Regions from separate parts of the Homo sapiens genome. Here region 2 is linked to region 1. The links are contacts of gene promoters, found by promoter capture Hi-C in blood cells and fetal thymus (Javierre and others, 2016). All regions are on one chromosome and are shown on one strand. Each heading gives the region's core, a stretch centred on a gene start or on the middle of the fragment in contact. The rest is flanking DNA. Distances are from core to core; before and after follow the strand shown. Region 1 holds the start of ME1 (malic enzyme 1). Region 2 has its middle 29 kb from the start of PRSS35.

Region 1 (5,552 bases), core at 1,678-4,177:
TGCTTCCCTAGAAAGATCATTATTAAATCAACTAAGACATTTTCATAGTAGAAATTACACACAAAAAGGAAAGAATTAAGAGATTCAGCAAATATATTTTAAGTGGAAGCCTACATTGGGGAACGAATAAGATAAATTTGGAGAAGACTGTAAACCCAATTGACAGACTGATTTTACATTAAACATAATAGGAAATAATAACATACTATAAATGCTTGGATAATAGAAAAGTGAAGAAAATGTTAATTAATGAAGGTGTCTCTTTCATATATATATGTAGAATGAACTATATCAATGGAAATAAAACCAGCAAAACTGTTGTTGCAGCTACCCAAAGGTAAATGATGAAGTTCTGTGTTAGTGTGGTTGAAGAAGACATGTGACAGGCTGGGTTGTTGAGGGAAGTAAAATCTACTCTTGTCTCTTTGGAGCCAAGGTTATTACAAAATAATAAGAATAAAAATAAGCCAAAACATTCCTGAGCTACTAGCAAAATTAAAGGCCTAGAGGTCTTGAATGTATGACAGATGAAGAAAGTCCCATAGCTGTAGTTTCAATGGTACATAGGAAACTCTGTTACTCCCATAAGGTACCAGATAACCATCCTAGAACTGAGTAAAAGATTATTCCATCGATTGCCTCCAAGTTGGTACACTGGATTGTGGATCCAATTTGACATAATGCAGATAAAAAGTTCAAGTATTACAAATTTGAAAATGTGCTTTTAACATATTAATGTTACATCTTATCTTTGATAGAAGATCTTTGTGATACTATTATTCTGAAGTAGGAATTAATCCTTAATTCCTAGTAACCTTGTGAACAGGAGTCACAAGGATTGTTATATCATAAATTCTTGGCTGGGCGCGGTGGCTCATGCCTGTAATCCCAGCACTTTGGGAGGCTGAGGCGGGTGGATCACGAAGCCAGGAGATCGAGACAATCCTGACTAACACGGTGAAACCCAGTCTGTACTAAAAGTACAAAAAATTTGCCGGGCATGGTGGCGGGCGCTTGTAGTCTCAGCTACTCGGGAGGCTGAGGCAGGAGAATGGCGTGAACCCAGGAGGTGGAGCTTGCAGTGAGCGGAGATCGCGCCACTGCACTCCAACCTGGGCGACAGAGCGCGACTCCGTCTCAAATAATAATAATAATAATAATAAATTCTTGATGTAAGCATAGTAAAGGCAATAATTACTCTTGCTCAGGGATTGCTCATGCCATCTACATACTCTTAATAGACACTCTTGCCCCCAACTTGAGGAAAATCAAACAGGTTATACAACTCATGTGGTCCTTCTTAAGTGTCAACCCACAACTTGGTCATAAATTACAGTAGGCAGGTGACACATACAAGTCACAAATAGTTTTGTCACATCAAATTTTACTTTTGTTCTACTGAAAATAGGTGGCAAACCTGCAGAATAATAAAAGAAAAGAAAAAACAATCAAACTAGCAATTAAATTTATTTTAAAGAAAGAAATAAGTTGGAATTATTTACAATTTAATAATGCTACATGACGGCAGATAGCACACAGTCATAGATTTGTAAAAGGTGCCTGTCACCACACACACAAAAAAAATCACTCACACTGACTATAACTTGTTAAATAAATCATGTCTTTAAGTCATTAATATGATCAACAAATCATCAGGAACACGACAAGGAAAAAGCTGAGCTTCTGTTCTTAATGTGAAATGCAGTCCACCAAAGAGACAACCAAAATAACTAAACAAACCTCTGTGCTGACTGATGGCATTTTCAGACTCCTGAATAAATAGGAAATGTCCAAAGCGCACGCACACACACACACAAAAGGAACAATCCCGAGACAAACCTGGCTGTAAAATAAGTGTGGAAGCAAAATGATAAATTCGGAGGTATTTTTTATTTGAGAGACATCCCGAGTGCTTATATTGCATCACCAGTGAAGGAAAATGAAATGTTACCAGGATCCGAAAAGGAGTCTCTGAACAGGGTGTACACTGAATTCCCCTTTAATAAAAAGAGAGCAGCTCTAAACAAAATTTTTTTTTAACTTCCAGAAAGCCAAATTAAAAACAAAACAAAACAAAACAAAACAAAAGAAAGAAAGAAAAGAAATGGCTTTACCCACAGTCCCATGTCTGGGACAGAGTTCTTCTACCAAGCCATGCAAAGTGTCCAAGACAGAGGCCACCCACCACGCATTCCCAGACTCTTAACCGTGTCACTCCAGAAACCGAGAGGACTTGGATTTCCAGATTGCTAACGTGATCTGAAGGCACTCAGTACACGTTTCTGTCTGGGCAGGACCAGTTGAGCCACTTCTCGCCTTATCAACTTCCAATAATTGCCACACTGTGTGTGCAACCAGTAAGTGAGTGGCACATGGAGTCTGACCTGGCACTCCATTCACACACTTTGTCTGATACTACTTTCATTGTCTGGGCTCTTGTTTTTGGAGAAGAGCTGCCGAAAAGTATCACCTTTTCCTCTATCACTAACCTTTACCTTTACCTCTATCCCTAACATGGGATGCCGAGGTGCAGAGGCACCAGCACTGCCCTGCCATCACTCTAGTGGATACGGACCCGATTAGGCGTCCTTCTTCCTTCTGCCCACACCAAGGCCCCCCAGGCCGCGGCCGCTCACCGGGAACCTTCCCAGGGGAGCGGCGGAGGGGCGAGGCCATGGTGCGGGGACCTGCAAGAGGGCCCTGACCCTGATAGAGAGGGGCCGATGGGCGGCCAGGTGGGCCTGCGGGTTTACCTTGTTGAGGTGAGGGTTCCGTGTCAGCAGGTAGCCGCGCTGATGGGTGTGGCGGCGACGGGGGGCTTCGGGCTCCATGGCTGGCGCCGGGTTCGGCGGCGGGGTCAGGCCGGGGCGGGCCGCACGCGCGGTGCAGGCGGCGGATGCTGCTGGGGTGACGGTGCTGACTGCAGCTGTGGCGGCGGCGGCCGCACTGGGAAAGGCCCAGCGGCTGGGGGCGGGCGTGGGTGGCGAGAGGGGGTGGACGCGTCGGGAGGGGCCCGAGCGAAGCCGGTGTCCCCAGCAGGGCAGCCTGCGAGAAGCGCTGAGTCATGGCAGGAGATCATCCGAGCCGGCGTGTGAGGAGGAGGAGGAAGAGCGAGTCCTGGCAGCGCTGCTGGTGGCGGAGCGGGGGTGGCGGCCGGAGCCCTTGGCTCCATAGGGCCTCTGCCCACCATGGGCTTATGATCACCGCTGTGGTCGCCTCTCTCCATGTGGGCATGCCTAAACGCAGTGCACTGGGTGGCTCTGCTGACCCCAGAGACCCAGGGCGGGGGCAGGGAGCGGGGAGCGTCAGGCCAGGATCCCCCTGCCCGGGAAGGCTGGAGAAAGTGCGAGAAGATGCCAGAAGGTGCGAACCTGAGCGGTTCAGGCAGAGCCGGCGGTCGCTCAGACACCTAGGGGGATTACAGGACGGAAGGACTCGTGAGGGGTCCCCAGAACTGTTGACAGAACACCTCGACAGGCTGAGGAGAATCAGACTCGTCTCTCCTGTCTTGTTAGCGTCTTGGAAGCCCTCTTTCTACAGATCCACAACCTTCGCCGTGCCATCCAGGATGCCGGCCATGCCCGGGGCCCTGAGGCCGGAGGGAACCAACCTTGACCCAGAATGCCGAGGCCCAAGGGAACTGGGAGGAAGCCCAGAGAGGAGAGCTCAGGCGCCACACCTGTCAGTTTCTACAGATTTTCCACCGGAATTGTATTTGAATGTCAATAAGATAAGAGTCAAGGTGTTAGGGTGCAAAGGCCCAATGAACAGTCCTGTTTATCTTGTATATTATTTCTCTGGGAGTTCTAGAAACCTGATGTTCAAGAACCACTGCTCTCTCTGAATAATGATGAGTAAGCAGTCTTTCAGGCCTTCCTCCCAACCTCAGGTGATCCGCCCGCCTCCGCCTTCCAAAGTGCTGGGATTATAGGTGTGAGCCACCGCGCCGGGCCATTTTTTTATTGTTTTATTGATATTTATGCTTGGAGGTTCATGGACTGGAGGAATAGTCAGATCATAGCCAAAAGGAGTGCCTGTCTGATAAAAATAAATTAATAGCAACAGACACTAAAGCCTTCTGTGCCCCAGTTTCCTTTTCAGTTAAATAGGATTGCTAGTTTCTGTCCCATTTGTCTCTGCATACTGATATTACAAAGGATAGTGTTTGAGATTATTTGCTGATTTTATATCTCCATATACTAGACACACATCCAATCACAGTGTTTTCATTTCTAGTTATGTTAACTTTGCCTTATCAGAAAGATTTCTTACAGTAATTGTATTTTGTCCGTATTTACATTTAGAAGCTTCTTTGACCTCGCCTGAATTATCTAGAATTCGTTGTTTTTATAGAGAATATTTTCTAGGCATCACAAAGTTCTTTTTGAAAAAAATCCTTGAAGTTAAATGACACCTTTCATTGTTAATTCTATACTCCATAAATACTCAATCCTACAACATCTAAGAAAAAGGTGTACTTTACACAACTCACTCTCCTGAATTAACTGAGACACATTACAGTTAGGGTGTTTTATGTGAGAGGAAACAGTTTAACAGCTGGCATGGGAGCCAATTCAAGCTGCTTAAGAAGAAACAAAAATGTTAGTACAACAGACCCTTATTATAATAAAGTACTTATTACATGAATTTAGATATACTACCTACCTGTTCCTGTTTCTGAGATTTAATATCTACAGATAGGAAAAGTGTTATAAGTACAGGGAGTAACCCACAAAGAGTATATGGCCTCTCCCTCAAAGGCAACATTACAAGGGGATTACAATATCCTGCCAGTAGTAGGTAAAGTTCACATCTTTCATCTGTATGTTTATTTTAATTATTAAAATAACCGCCGTCATCTTGAATGAAACAGGATAAGGCCTAGCTGAAGAAGCCATTTAGTACATTCATATGTAGTTCCAAGAATACTAGAAAGAACCTATTTTTCTACATAAATGTTAGCTAGAATATCAAAATTTTCAGTCTTTTTTAAATAATAATCTCATAAGGTTAGGTTTTATTTCCAAAAACGTAGGAAAACAGATGCAGAGAAAAAAACTGCTTTAATTTGCCTTGTAACAAACTGTGGTTGCACTGTCACTCTGAAAGCAATTGGTAATGTTAAGAATGGGTATCATTCACAAATTAAGAGACTAAAACATAGATTTCTGTTATACACAGGTGAGAATGCCATCAGTCAAAATCAGATTTTTCTTTCCCAAGTTATAGTTTAGCACACAAAGAGCTTTTACAACATAAAATATGATTGTAATAGATACTCTGATGTAATGTCAGTTGAGATTGCAAGTATAGAAAATTCAGGAAATAACTCTTAGTACATACAGCAATTCTAATATTTTACTTTCATGAGATAAAAAAGATTAATAGAAAAAATACATATCTAGGTGAGGATTTATAATATTAACTAAATGATTCTGTATTTCTTCACACAAAAAGCACACTACTACTATGTCTTCAAAATCTAGTGTGCATTTTATAACACATCTCAATTTAGACACCAAATTTTTATCAGAAATTTGATCTGTATTTCA
Region 2 (5,974 bases), core at 1,776-4,275, 52 kb after region 1:
TATAAAGAATTTTTTTAAATCTTTCTCAGCTCCCATTGTAAATAGTCTTTCCCACTTGAACTCCCTTAGCATTTTGTTCAAATGTATAGTGCATGCCACTTTCTACCTTATACTATGGTTATCTGTATTTATGACATAGCTCCTCCTACTTGACAAGGTCTTCCTTGAGCAGTAACTCAGACTTTTTTTATTTCAGATTACCTATGGCGCCGGGCAGAATACCCAGCACTAAAAGTGCTTAAAAATTGTGAATCAATCTTTTGAATGACTGTTTCTCTTTGTCTTTATCTTAATGCCAAAAGCAAGGCAAAATAAGTCAATATTATTATGGCTAGGGAAAGACCTTAACTACCTCAAAGAGACCTTAGTTACAATTATATTTCACAGAATTATGTCTCAAAACTCCCCAAAGTTCAGTTTCATCATTGCACTAAGTAAACCCTTGGTTAAGCATAATCTTCACACATGCACAGACTTGCATCATACCTGTGTGACACAAGCCAGGATCGCATCAATTGCCAAGGGAGGTAAGTTCCTCTAGGCAGCCTGACCCAAACCTCTCTTCTGTTACAGCTTTCCAGAGTTCAATCAATTTACCAGAGGGAGAGAAAGGTATTTCCTCAAGAAATCATTTTTTTAAAAAAGGTGACATGAAACTGAGAGAGTATATATTTGTTCTATGATAGAAATGGCTGACATGACATCTTCCTATAGTTTCCATGAGTTTTGTTGTAAGATTTTATGGAAATATATACTGAATTAAATTTAGACATCATTCATATCTGTTTCACAAGAAGTTTTATGAGCATACAATTTTTCTCTTTAAAGACTTGAGTTAAATTCTGGCTTACAAGTTAAAGAGCTTGACAGGACAGATATGTTGTCATTTAACCAATCACTTCAGTGCACTCAGAGATGAATGAAGTAGCAGCCATAAAAAAGAACAAAACCATGTCCTTCGAGGCAACATGGATGCAGCTGGAGGCTATTATCCTAAGTGAATTAACACAGAAACAGAAAATCAAATACTACATGTTTTCACTTATAAGTGGGAGCTAAACATTGGGTACACACGGCCATAAAGATAGAAACCAGAGACACTGGAAACTCCCTAAGGGAGGAGGTAGCAAAGGAGGCAATGGTTGAAGAAACACCTATTGGGTACTATGTCCACTATTTAGTGACAGGTTCAATAGAAGCCTAAACCTCAGCATCATGCAACATATCCATGTAACAAACCTACGTGTGTACCCTCTGAATCTAAAATTTAAAAAAGAAATTAATGAAGTAATAGAATTAAATTAACTATGCTCTTAACTTCATCACATTTTAATTTATAAATTAAAGGCAACATTCTCACGGCATAGTCACATACTACACGTGCAGACACATGTGAAGCGCACATCCAGAAGAAGGCAGTAAAGGAGGAGCACGGAAATAAAAAACACATGAAGAAATAGAAAGTGAGTACTGAGAGGGTAGACCCAAAAGCATATCAGTAATTACTTTAAGTACAAAAGGACTAAACACTCCAACTAAAAGGCAGATAGTTAGACTAAATTTAAAAAATGGAACCAACGTATAAGACACAAAATTTAAGGCTGGGTGCAGGGGCTCCCAGCAGTTTGGGAGACCCAGGTGGGCAGATCACTTGAGGCCAGGAGTTTGAGACCAGCCTGGCCAACATGGCGAAATCCTGTCTCTACTAAAAATACAAAAATTAGTCAGGCATGGTGGCATGTGCCTGTAAATTCCAGCTACTCAGGAGGCTGAGGCATGAGAATAGCTTGAACCTGGGAGGCAGAGGTTGCAGTGAGCTGAGATTGTGTCACTGCACTCCAGCTTGGGCAACAGAGCAAGACTCTGTCTCAAAAAATAAAAAGACAAAAAAATCCCATATGAGGACACAGAACAGTTGAAGGTAAAATGATGAAAACATAAATACCATATACCGTGTAAACACTAATCATAAGAAAGTTGATATGACTACATTAATATCAAAAATAGACTTTCAGGCAAAAAATATTACTAGATATAAAGGGACATTTCCTAATGATAAAAGGGTCAATTCAATAGGAAGTCACAAAAATCCTTAATGTATATTTGCCTTATAACATACCTTCAAAAAGGAAGTAAAAATTGACAAAAATAAAAGGATCAACAGATAAATCCACAATTAGAATTGGAGATTTAAAAATACTTCTTTCTGTAATTGATAGAACAGGCAGACAATATATCAGTAATATTAATAATATAGAAGATATGAACAATACCATTAACCAATCTGACTAATTGAACATTTATAGAGTTTATAGAATATTATACTCAACAACTACAAAAAAGAAAAAAACACATACTATTTATATGCACATAGATCACTCACCAAAATAGACAATATTCTGGGCTATAAAGCTAGTCTCAATACATTTTGAATGACTGAAATCATACAGAATATATTTTCTTATCACAATGGAATTAAATTAGAAATCAAAAGCAAAAAGATATGTTCAGAAATTAAGAAATACATTTCTAAATTATCTATTGGTCAAAGAAGAAATCACAAGAAAAGTTAGAGAGTATTTTGAATTGAAAAACAATACAAATTAATTCTATGAGATACAACCAAAGCAATACTTAGTAGAAAATGTGTATTAAATGCATATATTAGAAAGGATGAAAGTTTTAAAATCAATGATCTAAGCTTCCACTTCAAGGAGCTAGAAGAGAAAAGTACATTCTAAAAAAGTGTGGAAGATCTATAAGCTAAAAGTAATCAAACATTGCTCAAAAAATTAAAGACCTGGCTGGGTGCAGTGGCTCACGCCTGTAATTCCAGCATTTTGGGAGCCTGAGGCAGGTGAATTACTTGAGCCCAGGAATTTGAGACAAGCCTGGGCAACATAGTGAGATCTCTTCTCTAGTAAAAAAAAAAATTAGCTGGGCATGGTGGCACACCTGTAGTCCCAGCTACTCAGGAGGCTTGAGCCCAGGGGAATCGGGGCGACAGTGAGCCAGTGTTTGTGCCACTGCACTCTAGCCTGGGCAACAGAGTGAGACTCAAAACAAAAAAAAAAATTAAAGACCTAAATAAGTGTAGAGATAAACCACCAGCGTGGTGTTTTTGAGATATCATTTCCCCCTAAAATTGATCTATAGATTTAACAGAATCCCAATCAAAATCCCAGCAGGCTTAATTATTTGTATGTAGAAACTGATAATATGAATCTGTAGTTCATATGAAAATGCAAAAGACCTAGACTAGCCAAAACAATCCTAAAGAAAAAAAAAAAAAACCAAAAATCCAACACTAAGCTAGAAGACCTACTTAAACAGATTTAAAACTTGCTATAAAGCTTAGGCAATTAAGACAGTGTGGCATTGGCACAAAGATAGATAAATAGATCAATAGAACTGAAGAAAGGGTCCAGAAATAAGCCCATGGATATTTGGTCACTGGCTTTACAACAAAAACAATAATTTATATCCAAGAAAAAAAAGGATGGTCATATCAATGGATGGTGCTAGAGCAACTGGATATTCGTACGTATAAGAAATAAAATTTGACCCTTATCTCACACCTATGCACTAAGTCAATTCTGGGTAGATCAAATATACACTTGAAAGCTTAAACTACCTTGAGATAGGGAAAGGTTTTTTTTAACAGGACACAAACAGCACTAACCATAACATTTTTTAATTGATAAATTGGTCTTCATCAAAATTTTAAAATCTGCTCATCCAAAGGTACTATTTACGAAGAGAAAGGAACTCCATAGCCTAGAATGAGGGTGTTCAATCTTTTGGCTTCCCTGGGTCACGTTGGAAGAAGAAGAATTTTCTTGGACCACACATAAAATACACTAACACTAATGACAGCTGATAAGCTAAAAAAGGAATTTGCAAAAAAACTCAATGTTTTAAGGAAGTTTATGAATTTGTGTCGGTTTGAATTCAAAGCCATCCTAGACTGTGTGTGGCCCATGGGCTGTGGGTTGGACAAGCCTGGCCTAGAAGAACATACCTGCAATACATATATCTGACACAGCACTTCTATCCAGAATATTATATATTTTACATAACTATGTAAAAGTTTACAAGTTGTATTTTTAGGATTTGTATATATAATTGTTTATAAATTATACCTTAGTAAGTAACTTTTACATATATGTGATATATTTTTTAAAATCTATATATTATAGATTAGGACCTTACAACTCAATAATAAGGCAAGCAATCCAGCCTGGGCAATATGGTGAAACCCCGTCTCTACTACAAATACAAAAATTAGCCAGGCATAGTGATGCATGCCTGTAGTCCCAGCTACTCAGGTGGCTGAGGTGGGAGGACGGCTTGAGCCGAGGCTTAGGTGTTGGGAGAGTTGGGGTGGGCAGAGGTTGCAGTGAGCCGAAATCGCCCCATTGGCAAAAAAAAAAAAAAAAAAAAAGAAGAAGAAAGAAAAAGGAAACAAATCAAATAGAAAAATATTTAACGAGTGATTTTAATGCACAATAATTCAACCAATTTCACAGAATCAACACCGTACCAGAGTGACCAACCATCATGGTTTGCTCAAGACTGAGGTTTTTTTTTTTTGATTAGGGACTTTGAGTGCTAAAATTGGGACAGTCCTTAGCAAACCAAGATGATTAATCATTTATTAAAATAGAAACCCATAAATATTTCAGTACATATATGTAAAAGAACTCTTGTTTTCACACAAATCACCATACCATTATTACAGCCCAAATTAACAATAATTATTTAATATCCATAGGATTATATCCACTGAATAGCATCAACATCCAGTGGCTGTTCAAATTTCTGTGTCATAAATGTTGTATTTTTATAAGTTGTTTGAATCAGAATCTGAATAAGATAAATATATTGCAATTGGTGAATATGTCCTTTCAATCAATAGGTTCCCTTCCATATTTTTATATTTTCCTTGTAATCTATTTTTAAGAAAAATGAGTTGTTTTAAGGAAATTTCTACAGTTTGGATTTTGACAATTGCTTATCTGCAGTTTAGTTTAACATATTCCTCTAGCTCCTATATATTCTACCAATTGATATTTGGATTTTGAGGTTTAATCACATTCAGGTTCAATTATATGACTATCTCATTTATGAAAATACTCACTGTTTTCAATTTTATTTATAATCTCATCTTGAAAAATTTTATTTAGTTCTTTTTTCAGATCTGTTTGGTCTTTTAGAAATGAATCTCTTGACCCTTACACATATTTTCAATACCTTCTTTTATTGCTTTAAACTGTTTAAACAGACTTATTTAAAATATTATGTCTATGGAATCCACCCAAATGCCCATCAATGATAGACTGGATAAAGGAGATGTGGTACATATACACCATGGAATACTATGCAGCCATAAATAGGAATGAGATCATATCCTTTGCAGGGACATGAATGGAGCTGGAAGCCATTATCCTCTGCAAACTAACACAGGAACAGAAAACCAAACACGGCATATTCTCACTTATAGGGGAGAGCTGAACGATGAAGGCACATGGACACAGGGAGGGGAACAACACACACTGGGGCCTTTTCAGGGGGCTGGGGGGCAATGGGAGGGAGAGCATCAGGATAAATAGCTAATGCATGGTGGGCTTAATACCTAGGTGATGGGTTGACAGGTGTGGCAAGCCACCACGGCACACGTTTACTTATGTGACAAACCTGCACGTCCTGTATATGTATCCTGGAAAGTTAAATAAAATTAAATTTAAAAAATAAAATATGTCTAATAATTCCAATATGTGCAGTCTCTGTGTGTCTTATTCTCTTGGATCTTACTCATGTGTCTTGTTTCCTGGGAGCTTATATACCTCAGAAATTTTTCTGAAGGAATTATTTGAGGTCTGTCTTAAAGGCAGTTCAAGATAAGTACAATAAACAGACCTAGAACTCCAATTTCTTGAGGCACAAGCCATTGATCCAGAGGAGTGGCCCCTGG

The links. The method cuts DNA at HindIII sites, captures the fragments that hold promoters and counts their contacts. A CHiCAGO score of 5 or more calls a contact.
Region 2: a fragment that was not itself captured here is called in contact with the fragment with the promoter of ME1 in region 1 in 1 of 17 cell types (monocytes); the score reaches 5.2 in monocytes.

The regions. Positions count from the first base shown.
Region 1 is chr6:83,428,124-83,433,675 of GRCh38, forward strand. It overlaps ME1 (malic enzyme 1), which reads right to left and starts at 2,928. Exons shown (of 14, transcript NM_002395.6): 1 at 2,754-2,928. The coding sequence starts at 2,831. RefSeq lists enhancers at 2,142-2,411, 3,032-3,201, 3,144-4,343 and a silencer at 2,632-2,821. The HindIII fragment of the contact is 4,994 bases long and covers 1-4,305 here.
Region 2 is chr6:83,480,183-83,486,156 of GRCh38, forward strand. No RefSeq gene overlaps it. Among named protein-coding and RNA genes, the nearest start is that of PRSS35, 29 kb to the right of the region's middle. The HindIII fragment of the contact is 652 bases long and covers 2,700-3,351 here.